3 separate regions of the Homo sapiens genome follow, and regions 1 and 2 are each linked to region 3. Evidence: promoter capture Hi-C in human tissues and cell types (Jung and others, 2019). All regions are on one chromosome and are shown on one strand. The core of a region is centred on a gene start or on the middle of the fragment in contact, and the rest is flanking DNA. Distances in the headings are between cores, read along the strand shown.

Evidence for each region. The method cuts DNA at HindIII sites, captures the fragments that hold promoters and counts their contacts. A contact is called where the count stands out against the background at its distance.
Region 1: a fragment that was not itself captured here is called in contact with the fragment with the promoter of BRINP1 in region 3 in 1 of the 25 tissues and cell types used here (dorsolateral prefrontal cortex).
Region 2: a fragment that was not itself captured here is called in contact with the fragment with the promoter of BRINP1 in region 3 in 1 of the 25 tissues and cell types used here (dorsolateral prefrontal cortex).

The regions. Positions count from the first base shown.
Region 1 is chr9:118,299,048-118,302,166 of GRCh38, reverse strand. No RefSeq gene overlaps it. Among named protein-coding and RNA genes, the nearest start is that of LINC02578, 380 kb to the left of the region's middle. The HindIII fragment of the contact is 4,740 bases long and covers 1-3,119 here.
Region 2 is chr9:118,150,756-118,154,189 of GRCh38, reverse strand. The region is part of intron 3 of LOC105376247 (a long non-coding RNA gene); the gene reads right to left. Among named protein-coding and RNA genes, the nearest start is that of TLR4, 450 kb to the right of the region's middle. The HindIII fragment of the contact is 3,221 bases long and covers 1-3,193 here.
Region 3 is chr9:119,367,351-119,370,824 of GRCh38, reverse strand. BRINP1 (BMP/retinoic acid inducible neural specific 1) reads left to right here and starts at 1,390. Exons shown (of 8, transcript NM_014618.3): 1 at 1,390-1,769. RefSeq lists enhancers at 426-946, 947-1,469, 1,470-1,991. The HindIII fragment of the contact is 11,628 bases long and covers 1-3,474 here.

The sequences.
Region 1 (3,119 bases), core at 499-2,998, 1.1 Mb after region 3:
TGTGAGCCAAGATACAAAATTGAGGAGATTGTGTAGGTGCTTGTATCTTATATGGTCACTGTCACAATTACTCTACTCAGTCATTTCAGCACAAAAGCAGCCATAAGCAATGCATAAATGAATGATAGTGGTTTGGGTGAAATACAATAGACATTAATAGACATTGAAATTTGAATTTCATATAATTTTCACTGGTCGTGAAATAGTATTCTTGTTTTTAATTCATTTATGTCAAATGCAAAGATGCCCAAACTGTTGTTAGGTATAATGGCAGACAAAGATGGAGAAGGCAGGATTTGGCCTGAGTTATAGGTTCAGGAATCCTATTTTAGAAAATCAAGATTGAGGATATAAGATAAGGGGTTTTTAAAGAAATATATTGTCTGGGAGTGGTGGCTTATATCTGTAATCCCAGCACTTTGGAGGCTGAGGTGGGAGGATTCTTTGAGGCCAGGAGTTCAAGATCAGCCTGGGCAACATAACAAGACCCAAGCTCTACCAAAAAAAGAAAGAAAGAAATATAGAAATATTTATGAGTAAATAAATATAATGTCAAGAATGGAATTTGCTTCAAAATTTGCTTCAAAGTAGGATGGACAGTGGGGGGTTATAGACAATAAAATTTGATAATTTTATCCAAAAATTATGGCTTGATAATTATGAAAAGCACATGATAGGGGCACAGGGTTAGGATTTTATTTTCCATGCTTTTTACATTTACATTTGTTCATAGTGAAATTTTTTTTTCTAAGTAATGATAATTTAAGCAGATGAAGATGTACTGATGTGGAACCATATGCATGCTATACTATTTATCAAAATAAAAGCAGGCTACAGGATAATATGGAGAAGATGATTTATTTATATATCTCCCAAGTGGTTCTGCACCATATAGACTCTTGCCTTTTTAGCCTATGACTCACAACCCTCCAACTGTCTTTCTAAAACACAACTTAGGGCCTGCATTACCGATGGTTAGAAAACTCTATACAGCTTTCCCTTCATAACAGGGTGAAACGCAAATTTCATAATACTGCATTCAACTTCCTTCACAATATGACCATAATGTATTTTTCCAGACATTTCTTATTCCATCCTCTTTTCCAACACACTGTATACTTTAGGTGAAACAATTTAAGTGCATATAATTTAAAGTCATGCAGTCATGTTGTAGCCAAATTCTGATACTGATACTGGCCATGTGACATTGGAAAAGTTCCTCTGCCTCCCAGAGCTTTAGGAAACTCATGTACAAAATGGAAAAAATAACAATGCTTGTCTTCTATGGTTGTTGTGGAAATTAAGTGATACAATATATGAAAAGTGCTTAATATTGAATTCGACACTAAATAATAATCTAATAAATCTAGCTATCACTGTTAATAATTATAATTATTTAGCTATTGATTCACTCACTAATTCAAGAAATATTTATTGAGCTCTCTTTAAATATCAAGCACCATCCTAGGCTCATACCAGAGTATTCACCACTCCAGAAATATGTAATGCGCCTTCAGAATGTCATGCTTTGGCTTGGGCCATCTTAGTTTTGTGGATTTTCCTTTTAACTTCTCTGGTAAGTTCACACTTATTTATCCTCAAGACTGAGTTAATGCTTTTCTTTCACCTTCATTGCTGCACCCAGAATGACTCATAGCTCTTTTCTCCATATGATTTGAACACTCTGCTCAATCTGTGACTTCAGTATTTATCAATCCAAATATGTACACTGCAGTCAAGGATTGAGTCCTTGCCTGCAGGGTATATATCAGTCTTCGCACAGATTGTGAGATCCCTTAAGGAAGGATCCCTTTTAAATTTACTTTTGTATCTTCAGAGCCTTGAATCTGCTCTGGTTAGGAAGGACGCTCAAGCATTTTTATTTATTTACTTTAATAATGAGACAAGTTAATCAGTATTGGCATATTGAGCTTGCTTGCCTTGGACTGAGGGTCAGAGAGCGCTAGTTATAGCTAAGCTGAAAAGGTAGCTGCCGTCTTGAGTTAGGGGGATATACAGTTCTCCCATCCTCAATCTAAGCACAGATGCATGGAATCTCTTGAAAAAAGGCCTCTAATTCATAGTGGGAAATGAGGTCACAAGTAAATGACTGTCACGGTCATCAAATGTTAAAGCAAAGGAAGCTGAGACATTCTGAAAACAAATCTCATTTTTCAGATTATCAAAAAGAGTGTTGAAGAAGTACACAATCTTTCCTGCCCTTCAGCTCATTCATTCATTCATTCATTCATTCAATAAATATGCATTTTGTGTAATTCTGTGCCTGACAGTCTACCAGAAGCTGGAGCTAGCACTGTTCTTTCTATGGCATCATGTGATCTCTATGTCTCTATGGCTATCAATAGCCTTTTTTTTTTTTTTTTTTGAGGATACCTCTGGATATGAAGGAGACACACAGCTGGCTGTCTAAATGGGAGCAGCATTGCCAATAGGACAGGAGGAGGAAGGGATAGAGAAAAAACAGTGTCCAAGAAACCATACTTGGCTGAAGCCACATGTTTTTTTCTGTGGTCAAACATATAAATTATTTCCTGGCTGGCTTTAGGATTCTTGTAATCTATCCCCAGTTCTTTCTCTAGTAGTGATTTAGGGAAATTATCTTAATGACCTTCTTTCTGCTTTCTCATTTTGATAGTGAGTGGATTAGACCTGTCAATCGTTCATAATTTTGTTGGGTCACAAGAACAATTTGAGGTCTAATGAAAGCTCTGAACTTTCTCCTGAGGAAGGAAAATTGCACAAACACATGCAAACACATAAATACACACTTTTGCAGCATTCATAGAATCACTGCTTTCTAACCTAAGGTCTCAAGATTTCCACATTAAGAACTCCTAGACTCAGAAATCTCCATGACACATCTAATTGTATGATACCACCATGTCATCTTTGCTCAAAACATCCTTTCCTGCTGGATCTTTCAGACCTAGGGTGTGATTGAGAACTTTTACTCCAACTTCCTGCTCTGTCTCCCTCAGCTTAAGACTACAACAAAAGGTGCCTGGCAAGCAGATGCACATCAGCCATGACAGTCTGTGGGTGGTGCAGAGAGGAGAAAGAAATGGGAATTCCAGCCATAGTGCAATGTCTGTCTCCTG
Region 2 (3,434 bases), core at 334-2,833, 1.2 Mb after region 3:
TTAAATGACATACACCAGACACAGAAAGACATATACTGTGTGATCTCACCTATACATGGAATCTAAAAAGTTGAACTCAGAAGCAGAGAGTAGAATGATGCTTACAAGGGGCTGGGGTGGGAGTAGAGCAGGGTTGAAAAGATACTAGCCGAAGGACACACAATTTCAGTTAGATAGGAGGAATAAATTCAAGAGATCTACTGTACAACACAGTGACTATATTTAATAGCAATGTATTATATTTTGAAAATCATTAATACAGTAGATTTTAAGTGTTCTCACCACAAGAAATGTTAAGTGTGAAATAATACATATGTTCAATTTACTCAACTGAGCCATTCTACAATGCGTACATATTTCAAAGCATCACGTTGTACTTGATAAATATATATAATTTTAAGTTGTAAACTTAAAATTAAGTAATTAATTAAATGTTTAAAAAACCTAGTGAAACCTGAGTAAGATCTGTGGTTTAATAGTATCACATCAATGCTGATTTCTTCGATTTGGCATTGTACTATAGTTATGTAAGATGTAAGCTGCATGAAGGATGTTGAAAATATAAGTTTTGAAACTTCTTATCAAATATTAAATTGTTTTTATATAAAAAGTTTTTTAAAAGTTGATTATATTCTTTTTAATCTTTTCTCAACCTTTTATTGGCTTTTCTTTAACTTCAGGATGAAGTCCAAATGGGTGAGTTTGAGATTTAAGATCCTGGTTTCTCTCTCTGGCCTCACTTTTGCTTATAACTTCCCTATATTTTATACTCAAAATTTATTCCCTGAATAGGTCATGCACGTCCCCTAATTTGTGTATTTTTACCTGTGTTACCCCCAATTTGATGTGACATTTTACATTATATCTTCAAAATAACTCTCTAATAGGTCTCAGTTGCCTCATCTTTATAGTTGAAATCACTGAAACTCAAGAAAGTTAAGTCATAGAGCTAGCAGAAAAAGATATTCAAACCAGGCCAGTTTGACTCCTCTATACCATATTTGCTTATGTATACTGATGTTTAGATTTCATATATGCAAGACTGACATGACCCGTGCCTTATGCTTGTGACTTCTTGTATGGCTGTATTGCAAAAAGTACGTATTCAGTAAATGACTGTGGAATGCAAATGACCTGAACCCCATGATGTACTGTTTTAGATATATACAAATCATCATTTTGCAAATTGAGCTGAAAGGGCCCTGATAAATGTAAATAGAGATTTAAAATAAAAATGCTTACTTAATGGTAACAAACCAGTGATCTGAAATAAGTGGGCAAGGGCCTGAGTACTTGCAGAGCTTTTCCAGGACATCAGGAAGTTTTGTCACCCACTGAGATGTGAGCCACGCTGGAAATGATGGACTTTACACTGAAAACATGGAATGTCTTGTTCAGTGCTTCCCGTGAAGGAAGCTTCGATTTTTACAATCAATGGCAAGAGGCAGAAGAAAAGGCTCAGCAAGAAGCCCAAGTATGAAATCTGTTAAATGAGGAGGTCTAGGAAGCCCCATCATGTTTTTCTTTAAACAATTCATCAACCTTTTGATGTTAAGACCTACTATATGTGTAGAAATCAGATGAATTAATGGCATCTCAGTCTCAAATGTCCATTTACCTATTAATTGTTTGCAACAATGCTGTGGTATAGTGAACCTAAGCCACTCAAAAAAGAACACACACACAGACCTAGCACACACACATGCACACACACACTCACACTCACATACACAATGCGGCAAGTTTACAGGCTTCATGGATAATTTGAACCCTCACTAAGACTCCAAGTACAAGTACAGGATCCCTGGTACAGAAGTAAATGTCTTGTTTGAGGGTCAAAGAACTGTGCGATATAATCTAAAGCCAATCATTTTATTTTTTGACTCTACTTTTAGATTGACAAACCAGAACAAATATTAACCCCTCTACCTAAATTGAAGTGAAAAAAAAAAATCAGAAATTATAGGTATGTGAAAACTCCACATATAACTTATAGACATCAATTTACGTAACTATATATGAACTTACCCAGCTGTAAATTGTATGTGATATCAAATATAAATATAATAATTGTGCCTATTACACTCAGCAAATGTAATGGCCTTTGAAAATTAATGTACATTGAAAGAAATATGAGACCCAGAAGATAAAGATGATTTTCAGTTTCCCTGCTTTATCTAAATTCAATCTGGTCCTAATATATAAGAATTCAGATAACATGGTGTGGAGGTATTAGAGCTATTTCAAATATTCTGACATACCTTATGGGCACATAGCAGGAATTTAGACAGGGCCATATGGTTTGCATTGGCCAATGGGAGGTAAGAAAAATGATGTTTTTCACTCCCAGATGGAAGCTTTATAATTAAGAATATAATGTCCTGCGTTTTCTTCTTCTGCTCTGCTGATACTGAAAATGTTCAAAAGGTACAGTCTAATGAGATGAAACTTCATCTGTTTAAATCCCTGAGTGATTATAATAAGCAGATTCCCATTTCAACAATTTTGTACACAGAGTGTAAACAAAAAGTAAATTTATTGTGTTAAGACTGTGGTTTGGGGCTGGTATACTTTCACACATAATCTCACCCATCTTGACCTACACAAAAGCATATCAACCACCATGCTCTGCCCAGCTTCAATCCCTGCCCCCGTAAGTAGATTATTTTCATGAAAGCTTGTAAAGCTCTTACATATGATAATCTTACCAAGGAAAAGGATTGTATTTTATAAATTGCATATAACATATAAGACTCCAAGGATGGCCACTGTGCATTCCTTTTCTTCTTGTGCAAGCATGTTGTGCCTTGTGTCAAATTATCCACCCCTTAAGCCTGAGCTGGTCTTAACAACTTTCTTTACTAGTGGAATGCAGTGAAAAATACATCCTTGGGCTTTCAAGAGTAAGCCATAATAAGACCTAAAGCTTCTCCTTGTGTCTTGTGTAATCCTCTGTCAAGCACTCCAGCTATCATGATTGAAATGTCCAAGTCACCTAAACAAGCCACATGCAGGAGTTTTAGTTGACAACCCTGGTGATTTCCCAGCCCCAAACCAGCACTAATTGCCAGTCATGTTCATGAGCCATCTTGGATGCCAGCTGAGTCAAGCCTTCAATGATTGTAGTCCCAGCCAATATCTGACTGCCATAACATGAAAGAACCAGTTTAGAACTGCCCAGATGATACCAAGACAACTATAGAACCTTGAGAGATAATCATAAATTGTTTCAATTCACTAGGTTTTAGGTTTGTTTGTTATAAAGCAAAAGGTAATTTGAACACTGTGTGATATGTTTAATGTCTATATAAGAATGGAAATAAAAGTACATAACTTGCAACATTGTTGTACAGATTAAATTGTATAATGTAAGTAATATGCCTTGTATAGTGTCTGTAATATAACATATGCCCATCAAAATATTTCTGTTCATG
Region 3 (3,474 bases), core at 141-2,640:
TTCATCACTCAAACATTTCTCTTCCATTTTGTTTCAAGACTCCTCTTCCTCCAATTAGTTCACTGGCTCCTAGATTGTTCTAGGCCTCCCTGGTGGTCACATCTCTCTCTTATCATCCTTTGAATTAAAAAACAAACAAAAAACATACAATGGCAATCATAAAAGCAGACAACATGCACTGAGCACTCACTAGGTGTCAGGGAGCAGTCTAAGTGCCTTTGCATACATTAACTCATGAGCAGTCTAAGTGCCTTTGCATATATTAACTCATTACAATTCCACATCAACCCTATTAGATGGGTAGATATATTATTATTCTATTAAACAGACAAGGAATTGAGGCTTAAGGGGTAAGTGATTTCACCAAGACCAGACAGCTACAGGACTCCAACCTCTCTGGAGCCTGCACTTCTACTGAATCTGGCTCTTTTACATATTCCAACACCTTTTCCTATGACTTCCTGCCCCTCCATCTGGTAGCCTTAATGCTTTCTATTCTTGCCTAATCTTCAGGGGACTAGGGATCTGCATTGCTGATTTGGTTTAAATCAGAAGGGAAGCAAAGTAAACAAACATACCAAATGTGCGCTGTGTGGGAATTATCATACGAGGGCTTTATTTTCTGCTTCAGGAAGAGGCCCTATGTTAGCAGCCCCAGCCTGCATTCAGGCTGATTGCAGAGTATTTTGCTTTTTATTTTCATGTCTTAGTCCCTGTACCCTCGCCCCTTCCCCGCCTCTGGTGGTCTCCAGAGAACTTCGTGTCCCCTCAGCTTCTCCCTCCTACATCCTGCCTACGTAGAGAAGCTCTTGCTTCATTCTGGGAGGTTACGTGGGCTCTCGCCTACACACCGAGAGAAACAAACAGTGTCAAACACTCACAGAGAGACGCGCAGACACAAACGGACCCACACGGGCAACTCCCGAGACAAAACCCACACTCGATGGATCCACGCGGCCGTGGAAACACCTGCCGCCCCAGAAACACTCAGGTACTCGCGACACACACAGTACAGTCACGCTTAAGGGCACCAGGATTCCGGGTTTGCGCGTATGCGCGGTCCCTTTGGATGCTCGTGCGCATAGACACAACACCCTACACGCCCCAGACCCACGAAACTCCCTACGGCTCAGCCCCAGCCCACCCGGGCCGCCCTTCCCTCGAGGCGGCCTCCCGTCTCTCCTCCTCTCGCTTCTCCTCCTCCTCCGCCTAAAGATGTACAAAACACTCCTCGGAAGCAACCCCGGCGTTCAGCTCCTCCCTCCCCGCCCCCCGGCCGCCGCTCCCCCATTCATTTTCGGCCGTCGCCGGCTAAGTCCCTCCCCCGGCGTAGCCCGGCCTCCGCCGCTCCCCGCCCGGAGACCGCGGCGCACTTGGACTTCCCTCTCCATTCGCCAGCCGCCTCGCTCCCGGACCCCACGGCTGCAAACTGATCTGGCGCGCGGGGAGGAGGAGAGCGCAGGCGAGCGAACCCGCGAGAGAGGGAGAGAGCGAGCGAGCAACAGCGAGAGCGAGAGCGAGAGAGCCGGGAGGCAGAGGGAGTAGTGACCGCCTTCCGGAGCCGGGATTCATGCCTGTCCTCGGGACCAGCGAAGGGGACTTTACGGCTGAGTATGAGCCAGGCTGCTAGGAGCCAGGTACCCCCACGCCTGCAGTCCCCGCGCCGTGCCCGGAATGCGAGCTGCACGCAGGGCTCTCCCAAGTTCCCACCGAGCCGAATAAAAAGCGTCCTCCCGCAGCTCTCCGCCAAAGACGGACATTGACTCCAGGTAAGGCGGCGCCGGGTGCAGCGCCCCGCAGCCCCGCTGCCCTTGGACCCGGCCCCGGGCCGCATTCGGGGCGTCCCCGCGCTCCTCTGCCCCTCCCCCTACCGGCACCCTTGTCCGCTCTTCACCTGGCCGCCCCGCCGCCTCCAAGTCTTCTCCAGTTCTAGGGAGGGGGTTCCTGTGCCTGGGGCTCAAAGGGCTAATTGCGGGTTTGAGTGAGTGGCGTGTGTGTCCCCGCGCGCTCCCGACGTGTGCACCATGGTGGGAACTTGATGTGGTGCTAGTGTGTTTGCGTGTGCGGCGTCGTTTGCGTTTGATGCGTGTGTTCGTGGTGTGTGTGTGTGTCCGTGTGTGTAAGGGAGGGGTGAAGAGAGAGAGGTCCTATAACCTACTTACGGCGCGATGTGTGTGTGCATGTTTGTACGTATGTGTTTGTATGTGTGCCCTCGTGTGTCTTTTTAATTAGGTCTCTCCAGCTTACACGGAATGGGACCCTTACTATAGGATCACGTAGTCACCGGGAAACCCGCTGTGGACTTCCTCTTGGGGCTCTGGGCTTGGGGTTTGGGGAGGATTATGGGGCTGTAGATGGCACCTTATTTAGCCCAATGTTGGTACGCTTGAAGGAAAATTCCTCCAAACGGTGGAATCCTGCTACACTGGGACCCACAGCTTAATATGAAAGAGACATGGCCAACCCCCGAGGCAAATGAGACGCTGTCACTTTAAATTCTACACTGGGCAGACTCCAAGATTCTGATGGGAATTTGGAGACACTGGATAGTGGGTGACAGAGAAAGGGGGAAGTCAGCGGTGGGCTCCTTATCTGGGGCTTGGAAAGTCTGGGATAGGGATTTACCCTGCATCCCCGTTTGCAATCAACAGAGCCCCTCCGGCTTCTGTTGGTTTTGGGGAGGATCTGGCAAGTTTGCATGGATCCCCCTCAGGGGAAAGGAGAAAGCGTCCTCGGGGACTTGCTCATCCATCACAGTTGCAAAGGGTCTCAGAGGAAATTTCATCTGGGGCGGCTGTGGATGATATGGAAGGAGATGGATGGGGCACTTTCCTAAGACAGATTCGTCTTTCTTTCCCCATTTCAGGCGGGGAAGCCCCCAGAGAGTCTCTCCCTAAATATGCCTCTCCATGGCTCCCCTGGAGTTAGGGGGATATTGAGAGAAGGCAGAGAGGTGGAGAGGGAGAGAGAGAGAGCAAGAGCGAGAGAGAGGGAGACAGAGAGAGAGAGTGTTTCAGTACTGAGGGAGATCTACAATTTGAAAAGGGGCTGTGAGTGTGGAACCCATGACAGAATGTGGCAGTAATTGACTTAAACTGCTGTCGGTTTGCACCTCGCGTCTCTCACTTGGCTCCAAAATACTGCCAAGGGCAGGGGGGCGGTGGAGGAATCTCAGCCAGGAAGGTAGTTTGGGTCAAGGCCCTCTTTCTTCTTTCCTCCATCTCCTGGGAGGCTCTTTAGGTAGGTCCCTTGGCCACCCTGGCTTGGTACTGTTGGGCTTGGGCTCTGGGGCCAGCCATTGATTTGATTCCCAGCTGCCTCTTAAAGGCTTGCCCTACTCAGCAAAAATGCTGAGTTTTACTGCTGTTAGCATGGCTTCCAGACTCGGCAGCTGTTACTTTCTCAAGGTAAGCGGCAGCCGTTCTGCTCTCAGGCAGGGAGGCTAGGAGAAGACAAGGGCTGTGACGCTGGGAC